3 separate regions of the Homo sapiens genome follow, and all the other regions are linked to region 3. Evidence: promoter capture Hi-C in 16 types of primary human blood cells and fetal thymus (Javierre and others, 2016). All regions are on one chromosome and are shown on one strand. The core of a region is centred on a gene start or on the middle of the fragment in contact, and the rest is flanking DNA. Distances in the headings are between cores, read along the strand shown. Region 1 holds the start of FSTL4-AS1 (FSTL4 antisense RNA 1). Region 2 overlaps FSTL4 (follistatin like 4). Region 3 holds the start of CTB-3M24.3 (a long non-coding RNA gene).

Region 1 (2,800 bases), core at 198-2,697, 130 kb after region 3:
TTAGGATACTCTCCTTTTGCAAATATCTTGAGCAGAGGTATGCCCATCATCTTTGGGTGTAGACTCAGTAGGGTGGGAGAGACCCATAGAGTGGCCAAGCTGACCAAGGCTACCCCACACACAGGAACCAGCGGAGGTGGAAGAGCTGGTATGCAGCACTGTGACAGCCATGCTCCTGCTGACCAGGAGGCCCTGTGCTCTCCACCTCAGCAAGGACCCTTTGCTCCTTCTGATGGATGCCTCTCCTGCCTGCCACACTGTGGCACCCCATGATACCCAGAATGGTGATCTCACAGCCCCTGGGCACTGAGTTCTGCTCTAACTTCCTGTTCGTCTGCACACAGCAGTCACATTGAGGTTTAGTTTTCTCAAAACTAAAAAGGTGTATTGGCCAGAGGAGGCTAAATGGAACCCCAGAGCCTAGAGGGATGCCCAGGTAACCCTGCCCCTGCACAGGCCGGCCCCTCCTGCAAACAAGGAGGATACTACATCAGACTAGGATGTCTCGATAGCAGGACACAGGTCTGCCAGGCACACAGGGAGGGCTCTACCAAGAAAGAGGGCAACCAGGCTTTACAGGAGTCACGGGCCCTTAACCTGGGGTCTGTAGACAGGTTCAGGCCTCTGCTCTCCCTCCCCACTTAACACTTGTCTTCTCTGCTAAGCCATGAGCTCCAGGTTAGCAAGCACTGGGCCTGTTTTTCTTGCCAGTATATTCCCACTGTATCCTGGCTCCTGGTACCAGCTCCATAAATAATTGTTGACTGAGCACTAGCCTAATAGTTCACTTGCTTAAAACTGCTTATTAAGTCCCTTCTGCGTGGTAGGCATTGTATTAGGTGCTGGGGATACAACATAAATAAAACAGATATAGTCTCTGCCTTTATGCAGCTTACAAAGGTGTTTGTTCACACCAGAGAGCAGAACTTGATAACTAAACTGTAATAAAAGTTGAAGCAACATCAAGCAACATAGGCCAGTTGAAAAAGTAAATTACCCACTGACCCGCAGGTAATTAACTAGTAATTTTATTGCCATCCCCAAAATGAAGCAAGCAAGAGGGAATGACAATGGCAGGAAGATTGAATCTGGTTACACGTAAGGAAACAGGAGATTTGGGACAGATGCAAGTGCTCTCTTGTGTGGCTTTGGAGCAAGTCTGGCTAATACAGAGCCACCTGTGCAGGCTGGATGCACCCTGGTGCTCTAAACAGGAATGTCAAGATGAAAGGCTTTAAGACATCCTGTCCCCAGCCTCCCATCCACAAACATTCAGCAGTTATTTGAAAGGATCCCAGAGTGACAATCTCTGGTAGACGGAACAGAGGAGACAAAAAGCACACCATCCCTCCCACCCGCCTTGCCCGGCTCACCAGGATACGCCAAAGCAGCTTCACTCTGTAAACACCAGCCAAAGTCACAAGGTCCGGGAGATGTTGCCCTGTTTGTTCAGGAGACACTGGGCATGCGCACTCCCCCTTGGCTCCTCCCCTACTCGCCAACTTCACAGTGTGACTCTGGTCACAGGGATGGGACCAGATCAATAGACTTTGTCACTCCAATGCCCCAGCTTCTTTGGTGGCACCTAGGTCACCTGAGGGGTTTGTTTCAGGAAAGCACATTAATTTAGAAGGAGAATAATGTGGGAAGAGGCCGCAGTTAGAGAGATGTGTCTAAGCGCCTGGCCTGTGCTCTCTCCAAATTGCCCTCATTCCCAAGCAGGCCCCTGAGCCTGAGTTTGCCCTCCGAGGCTCAGTCAAAAATATTGATGTGCAGGCAGGTTACTGAGCTTTTGACAGGGTTTTTTTCACCAATGGCATCATTTGAAAAATGGCAAATATCCAAGTAGGAATGTGTTCCATTAGTGTGTTTCTGACATAAGAAAACTAACACCAGCTTGACAAGAATTTGAGAAATTTAATTTCTATCACTACAAAGCACCAGAATCCTGTTTGAGAGGGTGCTGATGGGTTTATGAGTGTCTTATCGAGTTCAAGTCAGTGTGAGAAATAGCGCCTGAGATTAAGGGAAACCTGTAATAGGAACTAAAACCCAGTTCTCCAACAACTGAAATGTTATGGCCTCCTGCTTTCAGGAAGGGTGTTTGTTAGCCTGCTTATGGTAAGCCCATTAATTCCCTGTGACTGCCTCTTCTCTCCAAGCTCCAAGACTCAGGGAGAAAGGTGAGGACGGGTGTTTGTGGCATCTCATGTCTGGAAAACCAAGGGTATGCTACTGCACTGGTTTGAAGGGCCTAGAGAGATAGGTCATGGCCTTGAGCCCACCTACTGTGTGCCATGCCTTGTGCTAGGCACCAGAGTGCCAGACAGCCCTGCCCAGAATCCCACTGTGGGACACGCAGCCTAGCTAGTGGTCCAGGAAGCTCTGTCTTGTGCCAACCAACCCACACTGACTTGGGCCATCACTGCAGTGTGACCCATTTGTTTTCATCCCAGGGGGATATCATGGGAAGCCCTGAGCTTTGAGAACCCCCCAACTCCCTTGCCCTCCTCAGATTCCCTACTTGCAGAGCAGCTCTCCAATGTCAGTTCTCATAGCAGGGCGTCAGTCCCTCTGTGGGCACAGACTTCTGCCCAGTAGTGCCAGACAAGCTCCCTGATGGGCTGCTCTGACCCCCAACCCAGCCCTCTCTTTCCAAAGACACCAGCCTCAGTGTGTAGACACATTCTCACCCCAGACACAGCGTCTGGCTGAGCCCTCTCTCACTGACCCCTGATCACACTCTGAGTGCTGGGCATATCACGTTTGGTCGTCCAGGGACCTTGGAAACCTTCCCACA
Region 2 (3,085 bases), core at 559-3,058, 160 kb before region 3:
TTGTGCCTTAATCTATAAATATTCACTCTAGGCAGTAAATTTACAAGCAAGGTTCAAGCTTGGTAATTAATATTTGTGCCTCTCTATGTAAGTTATGTCTTTAAAATGAGGCAATTGCTTTAAGCATTTAAGACATTCCGCGTATATTGCAGAGTAATTACTTTCCAAAGATATTTCCAACTGATATTTTGTTACATCTAAATATACATTTACAGTACTCAGTAGACCAGAATAGCTCTAATTTATATATTTGGTCCACTGGGTTAGAAAAAGAGACATTTTAAAAGTATGTTTTTAATCAGTGTGTTTATCCCAAAGATACTGTTGGCTCCTCCAGAATCACACGATTTTATAAAAAATAATAAATGTGGTGTGTTCTCTGAGCTGATTTAGACTTTAATGAGAGATGACATCTCAGCGGAGCATGAGCATGGCTAACTTTTAATCCGGGCTCCGAAGTGTTCTAGAGCTTGGAGGAACTTATTAACTCCCTTGGTGTCATTTTCTTAATGTACAAAATTCAGATGATAAACAGTTACTGCCCTTGTGCAGTGAGAATTAATGCTTTCTGAGTCGCAGTATTGTTTTGATAAAATAGTCTTAATTGTTTGCTTTGTACATTTTCTGCTTTATTATTTTTATTATTTCTCTTGCCTCTGTAATTGGTCGTTATTGGGTTCCCATTATTTCTTTATTAGTCATTTTATAAAAGCTATCTTGTGATTTATCCTCCCTCCCACACTTGCTGTTCCCCCAAGTATCGTAAACAGAGGCAAGACCCAGGCAAACAAAGCTGGTGGTATTGTTGGTTGCTTTGAGTGGCTCGCCCGTTGTCTTTAGGATGGTTCATTCCCAATTGCTTGACTGCTATGAAAGAACTTATATGAATCCCAGGAGGTTTATTAGAAACATGTTCTAAGTAATAGTAAGAAAGTTGGATTAACAGGGTCTGCATGGAAACTCTAACCTCCCTCCCTAAAGGAGGAGAGGAGCAAGATGAGTCTTTCCAGCTTGGGGCAGGCATCGTAAGTGTACAATGACCACATAATATGGCACACTATATAAAAGGACAAGAAAATCATCGCTCATACAGTGAAAAGAAGCCAAACTCCATTCTACCTAAAAGTTGGCTTTCTATAACATTTCCAGCCACCATTACATTGGGACTTTATCCTACTCTTATTACTCATATGATCTCATTGAGTTGAGAGTTGTCTCCTTCTGTGTTCTCTAACTATTCAGTGTAGTTTTTCAAAATTATACAGCCAGACATTCTGAGTATGATCCAATGTACTGGTTATATTACTTTGAACAAGTTATTTAAACTTCTGTGCTTTGGTTTTCTCACATCTAAAATAGTGGTGATAGTTCTATCTACCTCCTATGGCAGTTGTATGGATTAAATGCATATTAAAAAGCTTAGCATAGCACTGGCCCACCTTCTGAGTAGGCTCTATATTAGCCATCATTGTTAGCTATTATTCACCCACAGTTGGGGCTGGGGTTGCCTGGGGTTGTGACTTCTAATTCTAAGTGGGCCTGTAGTATGGGGGACTAGGATGTCTTTGGTGAATACTTACTGAAATGCATTGGGTTAGAAAGCCTTGGATTTAACTGGACCAATTTATTTTCTTTCCTCAAAACTGAGTAATCACATTTATCCACCATTTCAGAAAGAGTAGATACTAATAACATGAAAATTTTAGAACTATTTATGCAGCTTATTGTTTCTGGCTATATGGGAGGCTAGATAACTTAGCTGACTCTCCCACTTAAAACAATTTTAAATAATGGATAAAACATTTAAGCAATCCTTTAAATACCTCAGTGAGAAAGCAGGAACTAAAGATTCATAAGAGGCCAAAAACTCAGAGAAAGTTGGGTTCTAAAGCAGACTTTTGCTTTGAGAGTATTTGCCCAATGCAGGTGACCTTGAACTCTGATTGTTACGACCTCAAGAGATATGGGGACAGGAGTCAAGCCTAGGGCAGATCAGTCTGTTAGAAAACCTCCTCTACATAAAAGCTGAGACCCCAACAGACCCCAGTAGGCTACCTCTCTAGTGTAAGGATGAAATAAAAATAAACATGCCCTGTCTTCTCTCAAGGATGTGTGAAGAAAATTGCCTGCCTTAAACCTTGATGCTGAGTGGGAGCCAAAATGTTTCCTCTGAGAACAGGAACCACAAGCTAAGCTTTCAGTAGAATTCATATAACAGACTAGTCTGAGAAAGCCTCAGCCAAGAATTTTGCTTGAAACAGTCCTGGTTGATAGTGTTCCTAGGTACATGGTAGAGCAAACACAAATCCTATGTAAAAGAACTCTTCTTCAGTATTGGCCTCAAATAATTTTGACAGTTTTCCATCCAAGGAATATGAGCTCCCAGTTAAAATTTGTAAAAATGAAAGGATGCAAAACACCAAAAGAAGAGCCAGCAGAAAGGAACTATGAAGACCAGATAATAGAATTAACATTTAAAAAACTGTGCATGCTGTGTTATAAGCAATAAAAAGGGAGCTGAAAATATAAACAAAGAATAAACCTATAGAAACTATCTTGATTATTTGAAAAATAACCAAATAGAATTTCTAGAAATTAAAAAAGGTAATTGAAATTTTAAAAATCAAAGGATAGACTTCAGAGCAAACAGGGCATAACTGAAGAGAACTGGAAGATACATCTGAAAATGTAACCAGAATGCAAGGAGGAGACAAAGCTATCAAGGTTAGGAGGCAAGGAGACTAGGATAAGGAGGACTCAGTCATTTGTAATTGGGGTTAAAGAGAGAAAACAGGAAGAGTAATATTGGAAGGGATAATGGTTGAAAAAAGTTTGCAAAACTAAAGGAAGACAGCTATCCTCAGATACAGGAAGCCCAGTAAATCCCAAATAGGATAAACAAAAAGAAACGTAAGGCTATCTACAACAAAAACTTGCAGAATACTAAGGACAAAATGATAACCCTCAAAGTAGCTAGAGAGAAAAAACAGATTACTTATGAGAGACTTATAGTTTATTTCCCAGTAGAAATCAGAAAGCATTGGAATATCTTTAATATGCTAAGAGAAAACATTGGTCAATCTAG
Region 3 (2,700 bases), core at 142-2,641:
GTGAAGCCTGAACAGACCTGTCTGAACACGAATGAAAGGGAAGCTGGCTTCTGCAACAGAGGAGGAGGAGAGCACACACTTAAGATGCAGCAAAAGAGCATGCTTTGGGGAAAAATTATTACAAGAAACAGAAGCTCATTTTAGACAGCAACTGTGTTCTACTCCCAATGCAAGAAAACATGAACTCTGAAATGAGATAAAAAATGGGATTGTAAATTGGCTGAGCCACAGTCAAAAATAAAATGGAAGCTGGGGGAGGTAAGGAAAGAATATAAAGAACCTGAAATACAATTGCAGAAGTTCCTTCTCCACTTCAAGCAGTCAAAGGAAAGATTAACCATACAGAAATCATAGTTGTTCCAATACAGGGAACAAACTTGAAAACCGCTCCCCAAATACACCGAGAATGAGAAGAAGATTTAAAAAATACTGTGGGAGAGGATGATAGTTATGTAAGACAGAGATAAAAGATTTAAAATAATAGTGATTGGTTATCTTAAAGACCTCAGAGCAATTCAAATGGACACAATAAGCAAAGAGAGATCCAAAAAAATAAGTGCCCTATACTGAAAGATCTATCAAATAAGTCAAAATATAATTGCTGACATTTTAGGTTTTGAAAAAAAAAATTAAAGTGATCTGAAATATCCAGAGAGAGAAAAACAAAGCAGACAAAAAAAAAAAAAGTCCTACCTGGTGTTGCACTGGGGGCTCTTGAGTGGTTTCAGCTGACCGGCTTGCCCAGGGGCAGCTTCTCCCCTTCAGTTACATTTGTGTCAAAGGTGAGTCTCAGACACTGTCTGGTAGGAAGGAAAAAAAACATTCTGTTCTTGGACTTTTCTGCGATATTAAGAAGCAAGAAGGCAATGAAGAACATTGGTAGAATTTTGGGGTGGTAAGACCATGATGCAAGAATTCTACACTTATCAAATGGTGATCCATGTATGGAAAGAATAAAAAGTATTTTCTGCTGGGCAAGGGTTCAAATAATACACCATCCGTGTACTCTTGGCTGGGAAAAAAAGTGAAAGATGAACCCTTCACATTCTACAGAGAAATCAGAGAATCTGACAAAGAGGAACTCAAGGCTTAGGTGAGCACAGAGGCTCTTGAAATGAGAAGGTGTCTAAATAACTTTTTCAAATATAGTTACCAAAAATTGCAAAGGGTAAATGATGAGGTTAAGTGCGCTTAATTTTCTTGACTGACTTATTGGAATTTCAACAGATCCTGCATAATCCTTGACTCGGTATGTTAAAAAGCATACATGAGGGCAATATTCCATCAGAGCCCAGAACAAACCTCATGCAGCCCCAGACAAGTGTCCATGGCTGTTCCCAGGTGATCTGGGAGACTTCACCTCCTGCCTTCACTGGTGTATCCAGAGACCATGGGAAGGATCAGCCACTGACTGACGTGTTCGACCTACGGTCGGGCCTCCCCGTGCCTTCATCTCGGTGGCTAGAGTGTGCTCCCCAGAAAGCATGCAGGGCTACAACTGAAGTGGAAGAAAACCGCAGCGGGTCATAGTGTGTCTTCCTTGTGTGATGAAGCCTTTGTTCATGGGCGTGTGTCAGTATGCCAGTGACATGGTCAGGACAATTGGGAAGGCCTGAACTATTGGTTCTAATGTTGCAGTCAATACAATGTGATTAACCAATTAGAGAGAAATGCATAAGAGCCAAATTCTGTTGCCAAGAAAAGGCAAAGAAGGTAGAAGAGCTGCCCTGTTAAGAGATAGAGGTAGAAGTTCAACCCCCAAGGCAATAAAGGGCCACCATGGGACACAGCCTTGCAGAAAAGAAGGAATGGCCATCAGGGTGGGGTGGATAGGATCATGGGAAATACACATTCTCATTCACGGAGAATGTGCCAGGCTGCCAGCCCACCGCCAGGGGCTGTATGGACGTCATCTCATGCACTCCTTTTCCTAGTTGGTGTTTACTGAGAGGCAAAGAGAAGCCAGATAACTTTCCCAGTTACTGGACTTGTAAATGACGGCACCAGTACTGGCACCTGCCCATCCCCTTTCAGTGTGTGTCAGTGGCCACTCCCATGATTAGGAGAGATATTTGTCAGGGAGTGGGGCTTGACCTGAACCTGGAAGAGTGGGTGGGTGGGACATGAACAACCAGGTACAGGGCAGGGGCAGCAGCAGAGGGAAAGACTTCATGCAGCTTTGCTGATGTTATGGCTGCATTCCTTCCTCCTCCACCAGACTTGGCACTTGCAACTGATCAGACAGCAGGTACCTAAAAACTCTCACTCCCCTAAAGGGAAATGAGGAGAAGTTAGAGTTACCGCAGACATCAAATATTGTATATCCAGTTGTTTTAATGAAATGAATCACATTTACACCCATCTTGTCTTTGAACTTCAGTGGCTGTCTCCACGTGGCTATGTGACGTGACAACCCCAGTGAGCACATTACAAAGGAAGAAAGTCCCCGCCAATGCCACGTGAAACACAGGGTGAGGGCTTCGTTGCACAGGAAGAAAAACGTCCATATTTCTCGGTCACACCTTTCTGTCTCTCCACTTCTGCCTGGGTTCCTTCTCGCCAGTGTCCCCACCTCTGCCCCCTGCCAAATTTCAGTGACATGAAGATCTCGTTTATGTGCCAGGCTTGTCTCAATAAACATTCTCCTAGCAATTTTAAAGGAACAAACTTTCCATATTAAAAACTTTTGTGGTTCTCAGG

Evidence for each region. The method cuts DNA at HindIII sites, captures the fragments that hold promoters and counts their contacts. A CHiCAGO score of 5 or more calls a contact.
Region 1: the fragment with the promoter of FSTL4-AS1 here is called in contact with the fragment with the promoter of CTB-3M24.3 in region 3 in 17 of 17 cell types (neutrophils, activated CD4 T cells, fetal thymus and 14 more); the score reaches 28.1 in neutrophils.
Region 2: a fragment that was not itself captured here is called in contact with the fragment with the promoter of CTB-3M24.3 in region 3 in 1 of 17 cell types (endothelial precursors); the score reaches 5.1 in endothelial precursors.

What each region holds. Positions count from the first base shown.
Region 1 is chr5:133,255,092-133,257,891 of GRCh38, reverse strand. FSTL4-AS1 (FSTL4 antisense RNA 1) reads right to left here and starts at 1,447. Exons shown (of 2, transcript XR_007058939.1): 1 at 1,374-1,447. The region is part of intron 6 of FSTL4 (follistatin like 4); the gene reads left to right. The HindIII fragment of the contact is 11,288 bases long and covers 1-2,800 here.
Region 2 is chr5:133,548,902-133,551,986 of GRCh38, reverse strand. The region is part of intron 3 of FSTL4 (follistatin like 4); the gene reads left to right. Among named protein-coding and RNA genes, the nearest start is that of FSTL4, 62 kb to the left of the region's middle. The HindIII fragment of the contact is 776 bases long and covers 1,421-2,196 here.
Region 3 is chr5:133,386,573-133,389,272 of GRCh38, reverse strand. CTB-3M24.3 (a long non-coding RNA gene) reads right to left here and starts at 1,391. Exons shown (of 3, transcript XR_948794.4): 1 at 1,303-1,391; 2 at 694-800. The region is part of intron 4 of FSTL4 (follistatin like 4); the gene reads left to right. The HindIII fragment of the contact is 3,410 bases long and covers 1-2,700 here.